Linked DNA regions of Homo sapiens: all the other regions are linked to region 3. Evidence: promoter capture Hi-C in 16 types of primary human blood cells and fetal thymus (Javierre and others, 2016). All regions are on one chromosome and are shown on one strand. The core of a region is centred on a gene start or on the middle of the fragment in contact, and the rest is flanking DNA. Distances in the headings are between cores, read along the strand shown. Region 1 overlaps HDAC9 (histone deacetylase 9). Region 2 has its middle 76 kb from the start of SP4. Region 3 holds the start of MACC1 (MET transcriptional regulator MACC1).

Region 1 (2,958 bases), core at 149-2,648, 1.7 Mb before region 3:
GTCAATACATAATCCATACTCTGAAATACAAGTCATTAAAGTTATTAAGTAATGTCTGAAGATATTAACATAGAAGGATGAGCTCAATATATTAATGAATGCAAAAAAATGTAGAATGGTATACAGTACATATAGCATAGTAAGCTCAACTAATGGATTCATGGTACTTGTTTCCATTATTTTATTGTTGTAGTAGGAGCAGAAAAGTAGTAAAAGTATTTTAACCCAAAGAAAAAAAATGCTAGCATGAAAATCACAGTTCAATAAAGTGTTTTTATATCAGTATGTTTATTAATAATTAAAAGTATTAATAAGTTTACTTCAGGAATAAGATTAATTTACGTATCTGTGAGAAACTTCGTGATATACATCAAAATATTAAAGTAATCATGCTATATTTTTCTTTTCATTCTGAAGACCACCTCTTGCAGGTAACTTTTTCTATTTTATTATACTGTCCTATTCTCCTTTCTTTACTTAGTTATATATCACAACTATAGAAGAAATAGGTTACCTGTTACTTGCAGAAATGTCACTCACTATTAATATTACTTTGCAACACAGAAAATTTTTCTGAATAATTAGAGGCAACTAAGCAAGCCTAAATGGAGTTGGTTAATTAAGTTATAAAATTCTAAGGGAGTATGATGAACCATGTAGACATATGAGCTTTCTGTTCTGCTTTTTTATCAAATGTTTCTGGCACCTGGGTTTTCTCAACTGCCCTTCTGTTGAATATGATTTTCGAATTGATGTAATGAAGAGTGGTGCTCTCTGGACAAGTAAGCTGTTCATTTGTAGAATAATAATATGTCAACACATATTTTCCAAAATAACAGTCCTACTACCGTAAATGTCTTGGAAACAGTTACCTGACACCCAGAGAGTAAGTACAACTAGCCTAGAGCCTTGGTCTGACACCAAGCAAGAGGGTTTATGAAAGAAGATAGCCCAGAAAGCTGGAGCCCTGCTCTGCTGTGTCGACATGTCTACAGCTCAGAATAAAATTGAGTTTCCTGCTTTAGCCATAGCTGGGTCTTAAAATAACCTGAAGAAATTATAGTTCTGATTACATAGAAAGTGAAGGACTTAGAACATTCTCCTAATAAAGCCATGAGAATGACACAAAGCTTAGTCATCGGCAGTCCTCCTCTAACAGGCGTTTTAGAGAGAAAAATAGAGGTTTGAAATTGGATAATTTGATTTGAAATCTTGCCTAATTATTTTAAGAATGCAGAAAACCTTTCTTTTTTGGCCAAAAAAATAATGATCTGGAATCCAATTAGGAAAGAACAGGCTTTTAAAATGTTTGATATCTCCAGTAATGGAGAAAAATCATGTCTTTAAAATTACATTCTGCTACAAACCTCATTCTTGGATGTCTTGCTTTTTGCATTTTGAATGGACAAATTTAATGTAATTTCCTTTTGGAAACATGGCATTGGAAAAGTTAGATGAGATGTTTAATTTTATGTTGGATCCTATCTACCAGGGTACAGATTTTTAAGAAGAAAAACACTTCTTGTTTCGTTTTATTTCCCAAGGGAGATATCTCACTTAACCAGATGCCTTGCGATTTGTCACAATATAGATCATTTACACAGAATTTGTGTCCAGTCGTCCATCTATTTGATTTGCACACCATGAATAAAATAAGCAAAATGGATAAAGCTTCTAATACTCCCAATTAAAAAATTGCTATCTATTTTTTCACCATTAATATGCTATCCCAAATGGCATTTATCACCATACTGTCTCACCATATTTATTCGTATGCTGTTGTTTTCTCAAGATACGTTCAATTCAGATTATGTTTGACTTGCAGCCATATCAATAATATGACTAATAATAAACAACAGTCTAGGATTTCCAGTTTTTAGAAAAACGATAATAAATTTGAAGTGAACCTATATTCAGATTTACATTTTACTTAGTATTGTTTTTAAAAAAACATTCAATTAATATTCTGAAATGATTCCATTTATTTTTACTACAAAGTTAGCTGGACCTTTACAGCATTTTAGAGTTTTACACGAGGTTTAGATTTGACTAAGCCTTAGTACGATGTCTGGAAACAGGAGGTTGAATGAACATTTGTTGAAAGGAAAAATCAGTTATTGAAATATTGTGTCTTCTGTTATCATTCTTGAGAAATGGTGGTGAGACAACTTAGTAGAAGTGACTAACAACTACATATATACAGAAGACAGGATGTAAGTCTCCAAGGTAATCAAGACCAACAGGAGGATGTTAGACCAAAATTAACACCGCGAGAAATGTGTTATGCATATATTACAGCCCACGTGTGAAAATCTGTTCATTTATAGAGAGATTGCTTCTCTGTGAATGGCTAAGTTGGCTCCACTAAGTACAAAAAAGCACTTAGGGCCATTCAGAACTAACAGCCACACACTCTGAAAGACTAAACCAAAAGATACCTGATTAGTAAGTGCTCTTTAGATGTGGGGATAGACGTTTTAACAAAGAAAGGACAGGGATGGAGAGGACTAAAGCTCCGTGCTGGGAAACTCTTAAGGAGCCAGGGCCTCCCAACAATATGCTAAGAGTGCACCCCTAGCTGTCTGGCCACATTTTCATTTCTTGTCTCAATCCTGAGGATTAATCATGAATTCCAGTCCAGTTTCTTTCCAAGCATATAACTGGACATGACAGAGTATCTTAGCTTCTACATCATAAAGCTCAATTGTTAATACTGAAAAAAAAAAAGCAGGGTGGTTTTTTTAAAAAAAACAAAAAACAAAAAACAAAAAAAAAAACATCTAATGAGCAAACAAACCAAACATGCCTCTCTTATTTCTTGTCCTGTCTATTTTTTATTTAAGCGCTGTAGGTGAGGTAATTGAAATGGAGCCCATGATATGTCTTAAGAAGGATTAATAACATTCAGTGACCATTAAGTGCTATGAATTTTCAATGTATAATGTTTTATTTGTTTCT
Region 2 (3,135 bases), core at 148-2,647, 1.1 Mb after region 3:
GCTTCTGGGTTTTTCTTTTGTTTTTTGTTTTCTGAAACAGGACCTCATTCATGCCCAGGCTGGAGTGCAGTGGCATGAACACTGCTCACTGTAGCCTCGACCTCCCCAGGGTCAGGTGATCCTCCCACCTCAGCCTCCTCCTAAGTAGCTACAGGCTTGCACCACCATACCCAGCTAATTTTTGTATTTTTTGTACAGATGGAGTTTTGCCATGTTTCCTAGGCTGGTCTTGAACTCCTGAGCTCAAGCTATCTGCTTGCCTCAGCCTCCCAAAGTGCCGGAATTACAGGCATGAGCCACCACGCCTGACAACTGGGGCTTCCTGAAAAAAATAAACAATAATAACAAGTAAGAAAGTAGTGGGAGGGGCTCTACTGTGTCGTCCCTGGGAAGACTGTCTTTTATTTCACTGACTTTGTGGGAATGGTCATGCCGTCTCTCTCCTTACCTGTTTGTAGCCAACACCAAGAGTGTACCAAATACATTACTCAGCAAGTCCTCAAGAAATGCATCCAAGTGAGAAAAGATGACTAGAATCCACATTTTTCTGCATTAGAAACTTTATAATGCGAAGCTTGTATGTGTAGAGGTCTTTGACCATCATTAGTGTCATAAATGGTCGCTAATACTTATATATATATGTATGTATATATATATATATATATTTTTTTTTTTTTTTCATTTTAAAAAATGAGGCCAGGCACAGTGGCTCACGCCTGTAATCCCAGCACTTTGGGAGGTCAAGGCTGGCAGATCACTTGAGGCCGGGAGTTTGACACCAGCCTGGGAAACATGGCAAAACCCCGTCTCTACAAAAAATACAAAAATTAGCTGGGTATGGTGGCTAAAAATTAGCCAGGCGTGATGGTGCGCAACTGTAATCCCAGCTACTTGGGAGCCTGAGGCAGGAGAATTGCTTGAACCCCCGGGCAGAGGTTGTTGTGAGCTGAGATTGCACCACGGCACTCCAGCCTGAGCGAAAAAGTGAGACTCCGTCTCAAAAATAAATAAATAAATTAATTAATTAATTAAATAAATAGATAATGATTAAGCAACAAAGATCTCTTAAAGAGTTGGAGTCAAACCAAGCCTAGAACTTTTCATTTTGTTTTACAAATTTTATTTCGGCACTCAATCCTTAACCAGATGTGACTACCTTTTAACTCTGATAATGCAGCAGTAAAATTGGAATTTGGATCTCCAACTTTATCAAAAATAACACATTTCTAGTTTTGAAAAGGGCTTTTTCTTTAAAAAAATAATAATTTGAAGGACAATGATTCAGCTGTTGTATTCTTCGAATAGACAATAAATAGAATTATAGCGTTGCTTTCTTCCCCTCCACCTCTTTCTCCTCTTCCACCTCTGCTATACAAATTTTCAAAAAATGTAACATCAATGTGAAATAGAAATGTTGCCATCCACTGTGAAGCAATGAAGTACAGTGTTCATTAAACCCACCAATCCAACTAGAACCCTGAAATAGACTGTGGAAGTCATGGATTCATCTGCATAAAGCCTTTTCCTTTCACCTCTTCTGGTAAAAGAAGCCCTCGCCTCTATGGGAAACAGGGAACATATCTTCCTATTTAGAAGGATTGCAGGGATGGGAAAGTCAGCCAACTTCGGCCAATCAGGCTCATCCTCTGGACTTGTGCTGTACCCTTTCTCTAACCAACTGTAGGCTATGGCACTAACAATGTATCCCTGGAGCAGTGTAGGGTACCATGTATTTTACCAGAGGAAAGACATTTTCAGAGAATAAAGGCAACATAGGGAAAAGCAGAGCGGAGACATGTAGAGAGAGAAGATTGGATGGCTGGGGAGGAGAAAGGAGTCAGAGCAAAAGACAGAGAGGAAACAAGACAGAGAAAAAGACAAGACAGAGAAAAAGAGAGGAAACAAGAAAGCAGAACAGAGAGGCTGAGGCTTTCGATAATGACATGTGGCACAAGAACCCCCATCTCTGTTGGAAGTCAGCAGCTCTTCTGTACCCTTCAGTTACATGCCCGAGGATATCCCAATTTTTCTTCAGCTTGTTGAGGTTGTCATTCTGTCATTTAAAAAAAATAAACATGTTGATGAACATGACCCCTTTATGTGTCTAATCAAATGAAAGAAGGAACTAAGCTCTATAGCAACTGTCCTTGCCTTGACATTTGAATATACCTTTGAGCATGCAGCAGATCAGTCCAGTGAAATCGAAACTGGAACTCAGTTATAAGCTTTCCAGACAGGGCTTGAGCTACACAGAATTTCTAAGAAAGTAAATTTGACTTTGATGTTAGTTCCTCTTTAGTGTTCCCCCATATGACCAGATTCTCACTGCTCTTGTGCAAGGGAGAGAAAAATCATCTGATATGTTTCATTAATGTTTAAAGGTTAATGAACTTACAGCTTACTCCTTCTGGTAACATAGCTGCATTTCACAAGGGTCAAGATCAATGTTTAATCTAAAGAAATGAATCTCTAATGCTGAAATCATGAGGACAGTAATGCATGGATGAGGAAGCTATTTTCTGTCAAGGAAATTATCCTGCTATTTACATGAGGATACAAGTGACACTTTAGGTATCAGAAGCTTGTGCATCTATTTAAAATCCAGATAAGTGATCATGCAAAGGATCGACTCATTTTTCTTTTCTTAGAGTAGAATGAGGCATACGAGTTCAATTATTGAACTTATTGAAATTACTTCCAATAAGTTCCTTCAAAATCCAAAGATATTAATGTCCAATCCTCCTTGACTAACTGCCCTCAGGGACTTTTACCAGCAGGCTATTCTTGACTATACGGGTGCCTAAGACATCGAAGATAAGTGTTGTTCTTAATCAAAATAAAACCACATTCAAGATTTCTGTTCATTCAAGTTACAATCTGTGCTGACAGGACACTAAACAAATACTTACTTTACACAATTGAATAATTGGAATACTAAAAATTTTAAAAGCATTAACCATCTGAATTTCTGAAGAAGGTGAAGAATATTCTAGATTTCTTTGGAAAAATTTCCCTCATTCACTTTCAGCCCTTTTGAATGCCCTCCCCTACATCTGGTCTCTACCTTTTTCCCTTTTGCTTCCTCCATATTCCATTCTTTGGTTTGGTTTGGTTTTGTTTTGTTTTGTTTTTTAG
Region 3 (2,893 bases), core at 240-2,739:
TTGAGAAAACTGGAATAAATAATATTTTTGCTTTAAGTTTTAAAAATGAGTCATAACTAAAGCTTTTAAGCAAATTGTAACTAATAATTATGACTTCATAATTTCTAGATTCTGTACACTACCCATGAAATCATATTAAAAATCGCTATTATGAATAAAAGATAATCATGTAATTAAGTTCAGGGGGGCATAAAAGAATCACCACTGAGGTTAAGACAACTTTAAGAATATACCTGAAATTCATCATTATCACCCAGTAATTGCTATGTAAAAACCAGACATTAACATAGATAAGTCAATATCAATCCTAAATTAGACCCACTGAATATAGACTTAAGACATTTTTAGGAAATTAGGAAGACCTTTAATAAATGGAAGGCATTGGAATTTTCACTACATGCTTTTTGATCTTAAAAATAAATTTTTTAAAATCTATCTTTATTAATTGTGGTAAAAAACTTAACATACAATTTACCATCCTAACCATTTGTAAGTGTTTACACTTACAAATTTTAAGTTCAATAGTATTAAATATATTTACATTATTGTACAGTCTCCAAGTGTTTTCATCTTGTAAACTGAAACTCTATATCCATTAAACAACTCTCATTTCTCCTTCCCCCAAGCCCCTGGCAACTACCATTCTAAGTATCATTTATGTGAGTTTGACTACTCCAGATACCTCAGGTAAGTTGAATCATCCAGTATTTGTCTTTTTGTTTCTTTGGTGTGTTTTCCAAGCTTAATTGAAACTTAATTAGGATGAAGCCAAGTTACCCTCCATCATGTATCATCTGTCTATTCAGTACAATGCACTGTGCTAATTTAATGACCCCCTTAACTTAATTACATGATTATCTTTTATTCATAATTTAATGCTATTAACCTAATGAGGTAGGTTATGCACACACACTTTACAGATGAGGAAACTGAGACTTTGCGAGGTGAAACATCTTGTCAATGGTCATAAATCTAATAAGCAGTGGGGCTGCTGATTGCAACTTTATCTATCTTCAAAGCACAGTCTTTTTAACATACCTGTATGCTTTTTGAGATATTTAAAGTTTTTAGGGGATTTCAGCCATCTACATATTTTAAGCAACTCATAGAGTGTTTTGTTTTTGCCTTTGATGGTTAATGTGACCTGGGTTCCTCCTTTTTTTTAAAATAAACTACTTTATTCTAAACCATGTCTCAAGGTATTATTCTATTCTATGTCATGAGGTTTATTCTAACACATGTCCCATAAGCCCACAGAATACCAGTTACCTTCCCTTTATTTAAGCAGGGCTTGATTTGTTAAGCAGCTGGTTTGTTACATTTTTCTGGAAATTATACAACTTCCTAGTGTGTAGCACATATCAATAGTGAAAGGAATATTATTTTTAAAAAATCAGCACTTACATTTGTGGAAGTGAGCCCAAGCTTCTTCAGTTCAGACACATGGTTTTAGTGAATAGAAGTCACTCTACCAAACCCGGGTACTCTTCAAACATGCCTTGCTCCGTATGCAGGCAGGCAACTGCACCCCTGCTTCCTGAGCCACCTGGGACTTGAAGTTCTACCACTGTGGCTCCAAAGCTGCCCAACTAGAAACCCCAAAAGGCAAGAGAACTACGATACCCACAATTCAGGCTCCTCACCCGAAACCAGAAGAGGGCGTATGGCTAGAGTTTCACCCTAAGAAGAAAGGGGAAGCAGGTGGAAAAGCAATTAAAAAAAAATCAGGTGAGTATATCTAAGAACCATCTGTAAATATAATCTTATTTCCATGAAAGGAAATAAAAGTGGTTTAATGTTTGCCAGGGAGTAAGAAGGCACCCTCAGTGTTAGCAATAAGTAAAAAATATTTATGCAAGCAAATCCTCATGCAGCTGGAACTTGCCCCACCAGATTCTCTTTCGGTGATTCAGAGCTGAAGGTGCCTCACTGCCCTGTGGAACAGGTGAATAAAGCCTTCCCAGGTGAGTGACAGTGTCTAACTAGTTCCCCCTTTCCCTCTACATCAGCACTGTGATTGTCACTCAAAGACATAGACATATAGACATAATGGAGACCTTTTGGCATTTCATCTTCTAAAATGCTCTGGATTTTTAAGATAACACTTTAAAATGTGCCTTTTAAAATATAAGCAAGAATAAAGTTTTCTTGATATTTTCTTCCATTTTACTTTCCATTTCTGTGTTTTGTGTTTTCCTTCTGTGTATTTTGTTCAAAATTCAAGAAAGAGAAAATTAGGGGAAAGGGGAAAAAAGGTAAAACTTAGTGAAATGAAATGTGCAATAATTGTTTCACATTTTTTTCCAACATCAGCAACAGAGAATGTTTAAAACAAATGTGTTTCTCTATTTGTTCATACAGCATCTCTCTCTAGCCTATTATCTCCTGTTAGACACAGCCCAGAAAATGAATAGAGACAAGTCCTGGCTGGGTCTGGGTTCAGAAACATAATAGAAGGATTCATCTAATGTAAGTAGATGGCAGAATGGTGACAAAGAAAAAGTTTCCTTTCCCTTTTCTGCACTTTCTCTCCTACTGTTCTAACCACCCCTTCCTCCCTGATGCATCCCTGGCTTCATGCTGCCAGATCACCTAATCCACCCAGATTCCCTTTGAAGTTTCCCCTTGACTCATCCCACAATCCAAACTGAGCTGTTCTGTTTCTTTTTGTCACAGGTTCCTCAACTCTCTACTAGAACCTAGCTTTCCTTTATGTCATTATATTATTTCCAAAACAAATGGTTCTTAATTTCCCCAAACCCTACAGAGGGCATTCTGCATGGCATTTCTCCTCCCTGAAACCATTTTTGCTCATCTTGAAATGTTCAGAGATTTCATTTTTTCCAAAGCTCAATGAAAAACACTCTTCAAGATGTCCTTCTCAGTTTGTCTT

Evidence for each region. The method cuts DNA at HindIII sites, captures the fragments that hold promoters and counts their contacts. A CHiCAGO score of 5 or more calls a contact.
Region 1: a fragment that was not itself captured here is called in contact with the fragment with the promoter of MACC1 in region 3 in 1 of 17 cell types (total B cells); the score reaches 6.2 in total B cells.
Region 2: a fragment that was not itself captured here is called in contact with the fragment with the promoter of MACC1 in region 3 in 1 of 17 cell types (total B cells); the score reaches 6.1 in total B cells.

What each region holds. Positions count from the first base shown.
Region 1 is chr7:18,519,852-18,522,809 of GRCh38, forward strand. The region is part of intron 2 of HDAC9 (histone deacetylase 9); the gene reads left to right. Among named protein-coding and RNA genes, the nearest start is that of HDAC9, 26 kb to the left of the region's middle. RefSeq lists a silencer at 2,316-2,395. The HindIII fragment of the contact is 541 bases long and covers 1,129-1,669 here.
Region 2 is chr7:21,350,838-21,353,972 of GRCh38, forward strand. No RefSeq gene overlaps it. Among named protein-coding and RNA genes, the nearest start is that of SP4, 76 kb to the right of the region's middle. RefSeq lists an enhancer at 2,245-2,454. The HindIII fragment of the contact is 1,651 bases long and covers 573-2,223 here.
Region 3 is chr7:20,215,895-20,218,787 of GRCh38, forward strand. It overlaps MACC1 (MET transcriptional regulator MACC1), which reads right to left and starts at 1,490. Exons shown (of 7, transcript NM_182762.4): 1 at 1,405-1,490. It overlaps GIRGL (glutamine insufficiency regulator of glutaminase lncRNA), which reads left to right and starts at 1,683. Exons shown (of 4, transcript NR_134569.1): 1 at 1,683-1,728; 2 at 2,362-2,469. RefSeq lists an enhancer at 1,315-2,514. The HindIII fragment of the contact is 5,395 bases long and covers 1,424-2,893 here.